Linked DNA regions of Homo sapiens: all the other regions are linked to region 1. The links are contacts of gene promoters, found by promoter capture Hi-C in human tissues and cell types (Jung and others, 2019). All regions are on one chromosome and are shown on one strand. Each heading gives the region's core, a stretch centred on a gene start or on the middle of the fragment in contact. The rest is flanking DNA. Distances are from core to core; before and after follow the strand shown. Region 1 holds the start of HAO1 (hydroxyacid oxidase 1). Region 2 overlaps PLCB1 (phospholipase C beta 1). Region 3 overlaps PLCB1 (phospholipase C beta 1). Region 4 overlaps PLCB1 (phospholipase C beta 1). Region 5 overlaps PLCB1 (phospholipase C beta 1).

Region 1 (2,718 bases), core at 127-2,626:
TTATTCAGCCTTATAAGAGAAGGGAATCCTGTCATTTGCAGTAGAACCCAGAGAACATTATGCTAAGTGAAATAAGCCAGGCACAAAAGGGAAATTATTGCATTATTTCACTTATAGGTGGGATTTTGTTTTAAAAAAGACTTCAAATGCACAGAGCTAGAGAATGAAACAGTGAATACCACTAGTGGGAAGCAGGGAAGAGGAAAAGGGGTGATATAGGTCAAAGGATACAAAATAGTAGACACGTAGGATACATAAATCTACAACAGGGTCCCTAACCTTTTCGGCACCAGGGACAAGTTTTGTGGAATACAATTTTTCCATGGGCAGTGGGGGTAGGTGGATGGTTTTGGAATGAAACTGTTCCACCTCAGATCATCAGGCATTAGATTCTCATAAGGAGTGGCGCAACCTAGATCCCTCGCATGTGCAGTTCACAATAGGAGGCGGAGCTCAGTCTGTAAAGCTTGCTCACCGGCTGCTCACCTCCTGCTGTGCAGCTTGGTTCCTAACAGGCCACGGACCAGTACCAGTCCATGCTGGGGAGTTTGGGACCCCTGGTCTAGAGAGCAAACGTGCAAAATGAGGACTAAAGTTAATAAAATTGTATCATATTAGGAATTTTTGTTAAATAAGTTGATTTTAGCTGTTCTTGTCATACACACAAAAAAGTAATTACGGGTGAGATGATACATATATTATATTGGCCTCCCTACTGTAACCATTTTTCTGTGTATATGTATCTCATAATATCATGTTGTAAACCTCAAATATACAGAATGAATAAAACAATTAGCTGTCAATTTGGCCTTAATGTTCCATGTTAAAGCCAAATGTCTATGTTTGTAATCAGCTAAATTTTATATTGTGCAGAAGCCCTGAATTTCACGGATGCCCCATATTTCATGGATGCCCCGTTCAGTTCATAAGCTCTTGTTTACATGATTTGTGCATGATCCAAATGTGGAAAGAAAATGAGTGGGCAGCCTATTCTGGGTATCAAGCAAAGAGCACAGGCACAGACCATGTGCAATAAGCAGCCTTAGGCAAAACTGAACCAAGAGTGGTTTCATACAGGTATTCCTCTAAGTCTTTAATTTTTTACTTATTCCTTTCCCCTTTTTAATGTGATAGACACCTAATCACCTTCTGCTGCCTTCCCAACCTCAACTTTGGTGTTCTTTGGCAGATAGTGACTTCGGTGTTCTTTGGCAGATAGCCTACAAATGAAATTTCAAAGGCTAAGCATATAATGTTTGCTCACTTGATGTAAGCAACAGAGAACTAAATCTGAACTTTGGCAAAAGTCTATTAATAATTGACAAATAACAGAACAGTGAGGATGTAGAAAGCAATACATTAAAAAAAAAAAAACAACGAACTCCATCTGGGATAGCAATAACCTGTGAAAATGCTCCCCCGGCTAATTTGTATCAATGATTATGAACAACATGCTAAATCAGTACTTCCAAAGTCTATATATGACTATTACAGGTCTGGGGCAAATGATGAAGAAACTTTGGCTGATAATATTGCAGCATTTTCCAGGTAAGAAAATTTATTTTTTAAAATCATGTTTTAAAATTACACAAAGACCGTACCAAAATAAGATCTCCTAGTTTTACGTTGGTGGTGTGTAATTATTTGTTCAGATTTGTGCTTAGTAGAGAGGGAAAAGTTCTTGGGGCTGTAAGAAATCTTGGGCCTTTAAATTGTTAAAAAATATTCCAAGCCTGTGAATCTTGAGGAACTGACTGCAAAAGCCAAACCTATGTTACTTCACTTGGAAATATGACAACAATTAATTTAACTACATGTAAAAATAGCGATAAATTCGGATGACTTTTCTTTTTCTTAGTATGACAGTAAATGCTTATGTTCATGGTGTAGGAAACAGCATTAAATGCCAGATAACCATCTTATCCGGATGAACCAGACTGGATTGTTGGCTCAAATGTTTTCTTCCTGCTGGCTTTTCGTGTTATCATTCATTTTGATTACTGTTGTCTAAACTTTCACTTTAGATTTCAATTTGTCTATGCAGCATTAATCTTTCAACTTTGCTGTTTCATCTCTCCTTCAAAGCACTTCATCTCTCTTCCCAAATTAGTTTTCCTTTGACTTTCATATTTCAAAGCACAAGATGGTGGGTGACATGGTTTATGTTTTCTGTTTGTAATAAAAACAAGAAATAAAATCATTTCAAAGGGTTTTTTTTTATAGCAGTTACAAAAATGGTTTATTTGCTGGAGCAAGAGAGGAGTGCCTTCACTACACTACACTCAGTCTCATCCATCTAACATTATGGCTGTTAGTAAAGGCAATCGGTATTGTGGGTACTCATTGATGGTGATAAAGACAAAAAGGCAGAAAATATGCAGGGGGAGAGAATTAGCCTTCCTCCCTGATTTCTTCTTTAGTCTACAACAAAATCACTCAAAATCAGTTTTCCATATTTAAATTAGGAGAAATAAAATTATCCTGGCCAAGGTGGTCTCTGGTAGGCAGCACTGATTCACCCACAAATCCATGTAGAAGACTGAAAATGGCAATGGGGTGAAGGATACGGCCTCTCCCCAACCCTTTCAAGCCTTGACTTTGTCTCAGGTTTTGCCTGGAACCCAAATGAGCTCAACAAATGCCAGGGAAGTCATGGGAAGGGAAGTTGACTGAGAGTAGAGGGGCTTAAAATTCTGCATCATTATTTACTATTTTGGA
Region 2 (2,718 bases), core at 92-2,591, 730 kb before region 1:
CTATCCCTAGCTTGGAGATAATCTTTGCTGTCACAGCTGGCATCCTAGAGACTGTAGTGATTCAGAGTTAAGACAGACCTTCCAGAATCTCCATAAGAGATTTTTGAAATCCTTGGTCACTGTCCACTTCCTGGCAGGATTCCCTACTATGGTACATTTTTCAGCTTTTCTATTAAGGGTTAGGGTGGAAGGTCCATCCCTCACTTAATCTGGTTTCCCTGTGGTTTGCTTTTTTTTTTTCTGCATTCGACCTATTTCCCTCCCACTTATCTGTTGTATCACATTGACTATTGACAAGACCCTGGATAATGCCGAAGTTAGGAGCCAAACGCCTGTGGCCTCTCTCCCTCCCAACACAGTACAACCTGCCAGGCAGTTTTGACTGAGCCAGAGTCCCCTCCACCCCACCCCACACGCACTGCAACCTGCTCCTAGACCCTGCTGACAAGGGGAAAGCTATACTAGCCAACAATTGTCAATGCTGTGTTCTGCTGGGAGGTCACATCTAGGGGGAAAGAAGCCATTCTCTGCTCTGTCCCAATAGCTCTCCCATGAAATGGCAAGGCACCTCTGAAAGGTGTGATGAAGGAAAGAAGTTTTAACAAGACTCAGCAGACTATGGGGTTGATGAGGCTACCAAGCTCACTTATCTATCCTGTGGACTGGCATTTGATTTTGCCTTTTACTGTTTATATTTTTCCTGTCTGGTTATTTTCTGAACAAAGGACATTTCAGCTGTGAGTAGACAGGGCTGTGACTTTCTGGCCAGAGCTGTGGGCCTGAGCAGACACTGAGGTCACTGAAATAAAGGAGAAAAGAAACAGAATTCCTAGGCCAGGCCTTTGCCTTTCCTCAGGCCCAGGCCCTGCCTTCTGGGAATAAAGGAAATGTAATAACGGAAAGGAAAGCAAAGGGAGTTGCCAAGTCAACCAATGAACAATAGATCCACAATGACGATCTTGAAAAATTTTTTTTTCATTCTTAGGCAATCTGAAATATTTCAGAGAAGTCTATGAACATACCAAACATGAAGTTAAGAAGAACTTGGAATGCACTCAGGGACGACAATGCCATTTTTCTGTAACCTTCCGCAGAGGTTAGAGAGTCAATAGGAGGAATTTAAATGAGATTTCGATCAATAAAATCCTAGAGTAGCTTTTCAGCAGCTTTTTCAGTGTAGTAACTTAATTAAGGCATGAAAGCATTGGCTACATCATATAGTTTTCCTCTGTTTTTGTCTTTTGGGAGAAAATTGATCTTATTTGTGTTGACTTTGTTGATTCACGTCGGTTCTGTTTCCTCAACTACTTTGTAGGTAATCTATATAAAATGACTTAAATGGATGCCACCTTAATTGTGAGGCAGATCTTTAAACTAGTCAGTATTTCCTTCAGAGGAGTGGTTTTTAAACTGAGTATCCTGAATATCCCTGGGTTTGGGCAGACATCCCTGCAGAGAATGGGGTAGGTCAGGAGGAGAAAGAGTGATAGGGCAACAGCCACCATCACCTGTACTCCAGGCTCCCCTCTATTCCACCAAGACAGCACCTTTAAAGCTTTTCCCTACACATTGGCCTTTCTCACGAGACTTTGTTAGAAGAAACAAACAAAGGGTGCTATGTCTAGGACCAGCTTGGAAACCACTGCTATAGACATCGATCACTAACTTCTAAATGGTCTGTGTTGCAACTTTTTTCTAAGCAAGTCCTGTTGGAGTGCCTAGGTGGATGTCTGGAGTAGCGGGACAAAGAAAACATGGTCTTGGTCCCAACATTGCCATTTCTGCAAACTGCCTCTTCTAATAAACTGACAGTTTGACTAAGCTAAATGGCTAAGTCCTTTGTAGACTGGAAATCTATGATTGGAGGCCACTGGCCAGGGCTTCGTGATTGGAAACAACGAAGACAATAACGTGATAGGTTGGCAGGAATGATGAGGCACAGCCTCTTTCCATTTTTTTTTCTCTCAATGCTCAGCAACTCTGACCTTACCCATCTTTCACTTTTGATTCCCTTAAGGCCATTTATAGAAAAGTGCTTGTCTTAGTTTGGGTTCTTCCAAAAACAGGATCTGAGACAAGGATTTGAGTGCAAGCACCTTTTTTGGGAGTTGACCCTATGAAACAACAGTAGAGAAGAGAAGTGAGACAAGAAGGAAAGGCAGCTAAGAAGGAGAAGGGTATCAGGCAGGTTACAGCTGTGGGCAGTTAGGGCTCAGTCTCACCGAGGAACTCTGGGAGAAAGCAGAGAACACACATCAGAACTTTGCAACCCAAGGGGCATGGAAGATAAGGTATTTATTCTTCAACTACTCCTGAGGCATGCAGTCCCTGGGAATTGTAGCCTGGCTGTGGATGGACTGATAGAAGGCCCTGAAGAGTTGCCAAGTGTGTAGGTGGCTGGGTTGGAACCATGATTGCCAAGGGACATGGGAATAGCACAGGTGTCTGCTACATTGCTGGTCTCATCCCATTTTACAGATGAAGAACCTGAAGCTCACACAAGTCAAGTCTCTTGCCTGAGGTTTACTGGCTTCATCATGACACTATGCCAGCCTATTTCTTTAATTAGGGCATGTTTGATCTTTCAAGGATGGAGAATAGAGATTATAATCATCACCATCATTAGTTTTTATAACTTCTACCTAGTAAAGCGAAATGGTGCTGGAAAAATATGATTCAAAAAATTTACTAGGAAATTGAAGTGATAATGAAGTAAAT
Region 3 (2,718 bases), core at 160-2,659, 670 kb before region 1:
CCAATGCACCTATGGAGCACAGGACATTTAATCCCTATGGAATATGTAAACCAGAGTGTAGTTGGACTTCCTGGTGAAACCTCTGGAATTTTACTACAGGGAGTTGGGTTAAGCAGTGAAACAACCATTGTTGCTATGCCACCCTTCCTCCATCCAATGGACGGCAAAGATGAGGGCTTGAGAGCTGCCTTCTTCAAAGCTGACTTGTGGATCTTTATGTCATAGAATCCCAGGAAAACTCTGAACATTTACTGAAGCGACCTCTCCTACAATAATTGATTCACCTATATGCAAATGAATGTTCCAGGAGCTCTACCAATACCATAAACATACTTTTTCATTTGTGTTTTTTATTCATTCAACAAACTTTATGCCTTTATTGCCATTTTCTATACCAGGGTTATGTTTATGAATGTGGCACAGTCTTTGCCCTCAAGCTTCTAATGATCTGGTAGAAGAGGAAAATACGTAGATCCTTTTAGGACAAAGGGATAAATGCTTTTGGAGCACAGAGAAAGGCCAACTAACTGTTTTTAAGGAAGTTACAAACTTCCTTAAAAGCTAGTTGGTTTTTCAACAGAGAAAACTTGAGGTGAATATATCTCTAGTTTGTTTTATTTATCCTTTTAGAGACAGAATCTCCCTCCATCATCCAAGCTGGAGTACAGTGGCACCATCACAGCTCACTGTAGACTCTATCCCCCGGGCTCAAGCAATCTTCCTGCCTCAGCCTCCCGAGTAGCTAGGACTGCAGGCATGAACCACCATGCCCAGCTAATACGTCTCTTAAAAGTTTGCAGATATAGAAACAGTGCCAAGGGAATGTTCTCAAACTACCACTGGAAATACTAAGAGAATTGATTGAAGAGTCCCTGAATGTTTCCTGCACGGTCAATAAAACTCTGTAAACTATTTCATCAATAAAATGTTTTTTAGTTGATATTACTAGGCCTCCTGGTTATCCTAGTCCTTATAAAGAAATTGTTTTTATAGGCTCAAGAAGTAAAAAACATGATATAGCCATGTTTTTAGAACTGAAAGGACCTTTTTATTATTAAAATAAAGTCATAATACAGGCTTCTTACATTTTAAGGTAATCAACCCAGACTGACTAGGTAACTTGATGTGAATGAACTGACTATAGTGAAGCCTTTTTTGGTGATCCCTTTATTAACAATTACTGATGTCGTTTTAATTTTAAACCTTACTTAAGAATTTTTCAACACTTAGGCTTAAGCTTATCAAAACCAAAGTATTTCCCTGAATTTTAAAACTAAGAATTAAAGAAGATGGTGCCCAATGGCACCATTTTAGTTTCTTGTATACATGTTTTCTTAGCCTTCAAAACACAATATTTTTTTCCTTAAAATAGAATTTTACATTCACAAAGAGCTTGGCACATATATAGGTGTCAACCTCTATCCCACTTCATCATTTCATCCTTACCTTCTATAAATAAAAAGTAAAATAAATAAAAGTAAAATTTTAAGTATAAATTTCCTTACTAATATAAATCCTAGGTTGATTTTCCTAGAAAACCTGAAAAGAGATACATTTCTTAGATATTTATAGTTTACCATTTATTTAAGATTTTTCTTTAAATTAGCAAATTTCATACATTAAAATATGTTTATTTAAAATAAAACTTCTCATCATTATCATAATGAGCTTGGACCCTTACCTCACACTATATGCAAAAATCAACTTGAAATTTATCATAGACCTAAATGTAAGAGCTAAAACTCTAAAGATCTTAGAAGAAAACCTAGGTATAAGTCATTGAGATCTTGGGTTAGGCAATGGTTTCTTACATAACCAAGAGGACAAGTAACAAAATAAAATATAGATAAATTGAACTTTATAAAAAACAAAAACTTCGTGCTACAAAGGACACTATCAAGAAGGTAAAAAGACAACAAAGAGAATGGGAGAAAATATTTATGAATTCTATCTGAAAGGAATTTATCAAATAAACTGCTGGTGGGAAGGTAAAATGTCATAGCCAATTTGGAAAACAGTTTGCAACTCCTTAAGATGTTAAACACAGCCATCATATGACCCAGCAATTACATTCTTAGGTATATACCTACGAGAAATGAAAACATGTCCACACAAAAGCTTATACCTGAAAGTTCATAGCAGCATTTTTCATAATAGCCAAAAAATAAAAACAATCCAAATGTCTATCAACTGATGAATGGAAAATCAAATATGGTATATACATGCAATTGAGTAATATTTGACAATTAACAGCAATGAAGTACTGTTATATGCTACAACATGGATTAACCTTGAAAACATTATGCTAAGTGAAAGAAGCCAGTCACTACATACCAGGTATTAGGTTGGTGCAAAAGTGATTGCAGTTTTGGCCATTACTTTCACAAGCAAAAACATCAATTACTTTTGCACCAACATAATTTTATATGATTCCATTTATATGAAATTTCTAGAATAGTTAAACACATAGAGACAGAAAGGTAAATGGTTACCAGGGTCTGGGAAGAGGAAGGAGGGAAGAATGCTTATTAATGGGTAGGGGGTTTCTTTTTGGAGTGATGAAAACATTCCAAAATTATATACTGATGCTCATTTTACATCTATGAATATACTAAATATACTAAAAACCACTGAATTGTTTACATTAGAAGGGTTAATTTATTGGTGTGCAAATACAGATATTCACCCTAAAGTACCTGTGCACCCTTTGTGATGTGT
Region 4 (2,718 bases), core at 94-2,593, 650 kb before region 1:
CCTAGCTTGGGTCATTATGATATTACATAAAGAAAGCAAGAGTCAAATGGCCACACACCCTCCTAACAGGGTCCCTAGGCAGGCTGCATTAAGAACAGTGCTGTACATGATCTGATAATTGTTTTAACTCCTACTAATTAATAATAACCCAACTCATTTAGTATGAGTCCTAGGAGAATTCTCTGTTGGTACTGCTCAAAGCTAAGTAGATTCTACACCATCTCCCTTTTTGAGATCATATATATATATATATTTTTTAATTGATAGTGCTGGCGTTAGTTTTAGACAATAGCAAAGCAGATCATTTTTGCCCTTACAATTTTGGCACAATTACACAAACCTAATAACATTTATGGTGGGTAAAAGTACTTTCCCCTACTACAGGATATTTTTAGGCCTTCAAATTTAATAAAAATATCATTGTTATACAGCTTATGCCACCAGCTCATCCCCCATACTTTCAAACTAAAACTTTTTAAACTAAAATGCGAGGCTAGGAATTTCTATCTCGCAGATTCCATGGTGTACTTACTTGAGGGCCCCAGCTTTAGTAGCTCAGATTTTAGAATTAATACCATGGTTCTGGGTTTTGAAATTGAAATGTGTGAGCCTAAACACAAAGGTGTGGAGGGGCAAGGGTAAAACGTCACTAACAGAAATATGATGTACATTTATGAGAATCTTAAATTTTCTGTAATCTAATTTGCATCAAAATGGATTTTGCAGAAAATGTGAAAAGGGGATTCTCTAATCTGCGAATTTAACATTCCAAGATTTTTTTCCTATTTGTGAGTGACCACTAAGGTCTATAGCGGGTTGCTACTTGTCACTGTGAATATCCAAGCTTTATCAGGCCGGCCAATGTAAGGGACGTAATTATCAAGCCTGGCTCTGCCACAGGTCCAGGATTTGCTTTTAAATGCAAATACGTTTTTCCCTACTTACCATGTTGATAACTCTGCTACCATCACTAAACAGTTTTGTTTCTTTGTGAAAAATGTCCCTGGATAGAAAGCCAAAGGCTAGAGTCGGTGACGTGATCCAGAAAGATGACGCTTTTTAGGCAAAAAAAAAAACCATAATAAATAAATAAAAAAGAAAAAGAAGAAGTGTCAGAAGAATTAGAGAGAAAATCTCAATATTAGTAGTTACTTAGGTCTGTGACAGGAATAAGTCAACCATATACTCTAAGCAGGGAAAATAAAATGCTAATGGGATATTTGAGGATGAAACTCATCTTTTGCCATATCAAGGGCATGTCAACTCTGTAGGTCACATTGCTTTTCCGAAAGTCAGATAATGGAACCAATATAACAAAACATCTTTGACCCAGTTTAATTGATGTGATTAATCAAGGAGGCTTGCTTATCCACTCAGCTCTGCATGCATTCATTCAGCGAGCATTTATTGAATCTGGGGTAATGAGCTGGGCACTGGAGTAGATTGGAATTCAATGTCAAACAAAACTCTTCTGAAGGAGGTTTTACAATCTAACGGGAAAAATAAAAATATGAAAAACCACTGAGGGGTATTAATGAAGTGTCAAATATACATAGAGAAGAAGCAAAGCGCTTCATTGGAGAAGAGGTGAAAAGATTTCATGGAGATAGTGTCTACATTTGAGTTTATAAAAAGATACTATTTGGTCACTTGGAGCTGGCAAGGAGCAGAGACCACCTCACATTTAGGAGACAGTGGAAGCAATGCTAAAGAAGCTCATTAGCATGAGGCCCTAGAGAAGAGGGACTTAGCTGAACTTGTGGTTCTAGAATATGACATCTCAGCTCAGACTTGGAAAAAGAAAAAGCATCACGTCAAGAGGGGTAAAAACGTGATATATTCTAAAAAGAGTTAATAACGTGATCAAAGACAGGGAGACATGAACCGATATGGTAGACCAGGAACTGGAAGCTGTTTAGTATTATTGGAGTGAAATGTGTGTGGAGTAGATCATGAAAGAAGAGTTTCTAGTTCTTTCCAACATCTTCTCATTTCAAACAATTCTTCTAGAAGCTATTCAAGAAGTCTGAGCCAAACTGTGACCTCTTCTGAGCTGTGCACAATTAAGGGTCAGTGAACTGGAGTCTTGGCAATGGAGTCTGCCTCTGCCATCAGACCGCAGCTTATGGGACAGCATGGTGGCTCTGGCTCCAGGACATGCACAGAGAAAGTCTTACCTCTGGCAGGTAAGGAATGTCTGAAAAGACCTAGTTCAGCACCTAGGACATGCATCTAGAAATGGACCTAGAGCTATAATACTGAGAGTCTTGGAAGCATTTTGCCCCCCAAAAGTAAGCCGAAGCTCCAAGGATCACAATGAGACCCTGGCCATGGCATGGGCAAGAGCACCCAATGAGGGCAGTGCAAGGGTGATCCCTTCTGAGGGTAAGCAGTAAAAGACTAATGATTTCTTGGGATCATGTTGGGCTAAAGAGAATCTTGAGGGCCAGGCGTGGTGGCTCACCCCTGTGATCCCAGCACTTTTGGAGGCTGAGGCAGGGGGATCACAAGGTCAGGAGATCAAGACCAGCCTGACCAACATGGTGAAACATCATCTCTATTAAAAATACAAAAATTAGTCAGGTGTGGTGGCGGGCGCCTATAGTCCCAGCTACTAAGGAGGCTGAGGCAGGAGAATCGCTTAAACCTGGGAGGCAGAGATTGCAGTGAGCCGAGATCGTGCCATTGCACTCCAGCCTGGGTGACGGAGCGAGACTC
Region 5 (2,718 bases), core at 151-2,650, 520 kb before region 1:
ATTCAGACTCAATACAATTACTATGCAAATGTCTAACGACAAAATTAACTTGCTTAGCCAAAACTTTTCCTCGGAGATGAGTAGACAGATTTCTGTAAATTTAGCTGCGTAAGTGTTTCTCGGTTCATGTTATAACCTATTGTTTTTCTACAAAAATGGATATGAATAAGTACCACCATCACTTTCTCCCCCACAAACCAATCAGATTCCTCAGAAACTTTGCTAAAACCCAGCTTTTAAATTGTCTAATGGCATCAGTATCACCCTGCACCTCTATGTAAAAGTCTGACAAGCAATTCACATTTTATTCTTCATGGCTTTTAATTCTATTGAAATAGGATTTGAACATTTCAAAGTGTAGACACCATGTTATTAGAGTATTTTATGGAGTGTCAAGCTCTGTACAAACATTATTTCATTCATCTGCATGATTTCCTTTCTGGAGTGGGTGGTGTGTTATTATTACTCTTGTTAAGTGGGATAAATTAGCTTGGAAGGTCAGCTTCTTTACTTTAAAGGAAGAACTTACTTAAGAGTCCAGAATGACAACCTCAAATGTCTTTCATCCCAGACAGGTAATGTAAATAAGGTAAGCAGGCCAAATTGAATATGCGATAAAAATGGATTTTGAAAAATTGGGAAATATATGCCCCCAAGTCTCTGTTTCATCTAAGGACGTTGATGTAGCATAGTGGTTAAGAGTGAAGGCCTGGGCAATTTCTTGTTGCAAAGAAGTATGCTTTCTCTTGAAATCAGCACATTTAGGCCTATGGGGAAGCTTCCTTTTTCTACCCATTAAGAAAGGGAAACATAATTTGTTGAAAGATAAAGAACCTAGGACATTAGAATTTTATGATTAAGATGGATGAGGAGGGAATGATCACTTACTGAGATGAAATATTCATGTACTCATTCAAAAAATATTGATTGATCATGAGAGATGAAATATACAAACGGACAATGGCCAGACAATATATGACAACAGAATTCTGAGCACCACCTCTGCAGCAACCAGCTGGAAGCCAAACCACAACCTCTACAGCAACTGGCCCCAACAGTCACGATACAGTCAATGACTGCCAGCTTCCCTATTCTTGGCTCCCTCCTTTCAACTCAGAATCAACCGGAGGAAGCAAGATCTGCTTCCCAAACCAACCACATCAGATGTTCACATCTAGTTAGCTCAACTCCAGCTTCCTCATGCCACAGCGTACCTGGAACCTGCTCTTTGTTTCACTCTAAAGGTTTCCTATCTTTCTGTGTTCCTTTAAGTCTGTGCCAAATGCAACTGATAGTGGTTGATTCTCTTGCAAACTCTAAATAAATCACCTCTGTTCTTGTTCATGTGATCTTCATTTATTTTCACAAGCATATTTAAAAATAACTTTATAAAGTGATCTGGTAAGAGCACAGAGAGGGAAATTCCACAGAGGGTAAAGGCAATGAGACTTGTGCAGGAGACAGCATGCCAGGAGTAGTAAAGGTGGCTGAGGGTGCCTGGAAGGCAAGATGGTGTGTACGTGTGTGTGTGTGTGTGTGTGTGTGTGTGTGTGCGCGCACACATTAGGGGTATAAGTAGGAGATGACTTTGAATAAAGAGACCAGGAATATCATGCAGTTCATTACTTGACAAACTTGGAATTCTCTATCCTAGTAATGGGCAATAATAAAAATAATTAAATAGACGACTGATTAAAATAAGATTTTAATAGGATTGAACTTGGATTTTCTGAAGTGTTACTCTAGCAGTGTGATGGAAGCTGGATGGAAGGTGGGCAATTTAGGAAATCGTTGCTGCAGGCCTAAACATTGGCAGTGGGGAGAGAAGTGAGGACAAAATAAGGAGATGAGAAAGATGTTAAGGACACACAACTGGCATTACGCTGGGTGAAGACAAGCAATGAACTGAGAGTCACTCTGGGTTTGTGGGTGGCATTGTTCATGGAATAACAATAATGAATGATGACTGGTAAGTGGTGGAGGTGGGACAGGAGGCCAAGATGACCCCTGCAAAGCTCATGTTACTCCCATTTGTATGCACCATGTCCCAGGTAGAGAGGGGACAGTGCTTCACACTTGAACTTGCTTCCAGCTGAGTCTCTTACACTTACAAAAAATAGGTGGCCTCATTAGGTAGCCCTTTTGCAGGTGGCATATAAAAATATGTTATCATATAAAAGTGCAGTTGGTTAAAAAATATAACTACCTCTAGAGAAGTCCATGTAAGATGATTTTGGTTAAAATGTGACTGACATGAAGAAATTTGCAGTAGACTCTTTATGTCCCAATCCAAAATTCATATGTTGAAATCCTAACCCCCAAGGTGATGATGTTCAGACATGGAGCCTTGGGGAAGTCATGAGGTCCTGAGGGTGATGCCCTCCCTCCTGAATGGCATTAGTGCCCTTATAAAAGAGGTCCCAGGGAGCTCTCTGGCCACTTCTCCCATGTGAGTTACAGTGAGAAGAAGGCTATCTGTGAGGTAGTGGGCTCTCACCAGACACCAAATCTGCCAGCACCTTGATCTTGGACTTCTCAGCCTCTAGAACTATGAGAAATTAATTTCTGATGTTAAAAATCTACCCAGTTTATGGTGTTTTGTTAAATCAGCCCAGGCTAAAGTGAAGGTAAAATGATTTTTGTTTCCTTTTTTATATGTGCTAAATCTATATTCTGTACATCTTAATTTTATATTGAAATTTATTTATTTTTCTCATA

The links. The method cuts DNA at HindIII sites, captures the fragments that hold promoters and counts their contacts. A contact is called where the count stands out against the background at its distance.
Region 2: a fragment that was not itself captured here is called in contact with the fragment with the promoter of HAO1 in region 1 in 4 of the 25 tissues and cell types used here (lymphoblastoid cells, mesendoderm cells, spleen and 1 more).
Region 3: a contact is called between a fragment that was not itself captured here and the fragment with the promoter of HAO1 in region 1, in 2 of the 25 tissues and cell types used here (mesendoderm cells and small bowel).
Region 4: a fragment that was not itself captured here is called in contact with the fragment with the promoter of HAO1 in region 1 in 2 of the 25 tissues and cell types used here (H1 embryonic stem cells and stomach).
Region 5: a fragment that was not itself captured here is called in contact with the fragment with the promoter of HAO1 in region 1 in 2 of the 25 tissues and cell types used here (H1 embryonic stem cells and dorsolateral prefrontal cortex).

The regions. Positions count from the first base shown.
Region 1 is chr20:7,939,116-7,941,833 of GRCh38, reverse strand. It overlaps HAO1 (hydroxyacid oxidase 1), which reads left to right and starts at 1,376. Exons shown (of 8, transcript NM_017545.3): 1 at 1,376-1,548. The coding sequence starts at 1,412. The HindIII fragment of the contact is 11,188 bases long and covers 1-2,718 here.
Region 2 is chr20:8,665,665-8,668,382 of GRCh38, reverse strand. The region is part of intron 9 of PLCB1 (phospholipase C beta 1); the gene reads right to left. Among named protein-coding and RNA genes, the nearest start is that of RNU105B, 160 kb to the left of the region's middle. The HindIII fragment of the contact is 3,580 bases long and covers 1-2,718 here.
Region 3 is chr20:8,609,857-8,612,574 of GRCh38, reverse strand. All of the region lies in intron 3 of PLCB1 (phospholipase C beta 1), which reads right to left. Among named protein-coding and RNA genes, the nearest start is that of RNU105B, 220 kb to the left of the region's middle. The HindIII fragment of the contact is 3,614 bases long and covers 1-2,718 here.
Region 4 is chr20:8,584,715-8,587,432 of GRCh38, reverse strand. All of the region lies in intron 3 of PLCB1 (phospholipase C beta 1), which reads right to left. Among named protein-coding and RNA genes, the nearest start is that of RNU105B, 250 kb to the left of the region's middle. The HindIII fragment of the contact is 7,424 bases long and covers 1-2,718 here.
Region 5 is chr20:8,456,550-8,459,267 of GRCh38, reverse strand. All of the region lies in intron 3 of PLCB1 (phospholipase C beta 1), which reads right to left. LOC124900459 (a long non-coding RNA gene) reads right to left here. Exons shown (of 2, transcript XR_007067518.1): 2 at 1-2,718. Among named protein-coding and RNA genes, the nearest start is that of PLCB1-IT1, 210 kb to the right of the region's middle. The HindIII fragment of the contact is 3,506 bases long and covers 1-2,718 here.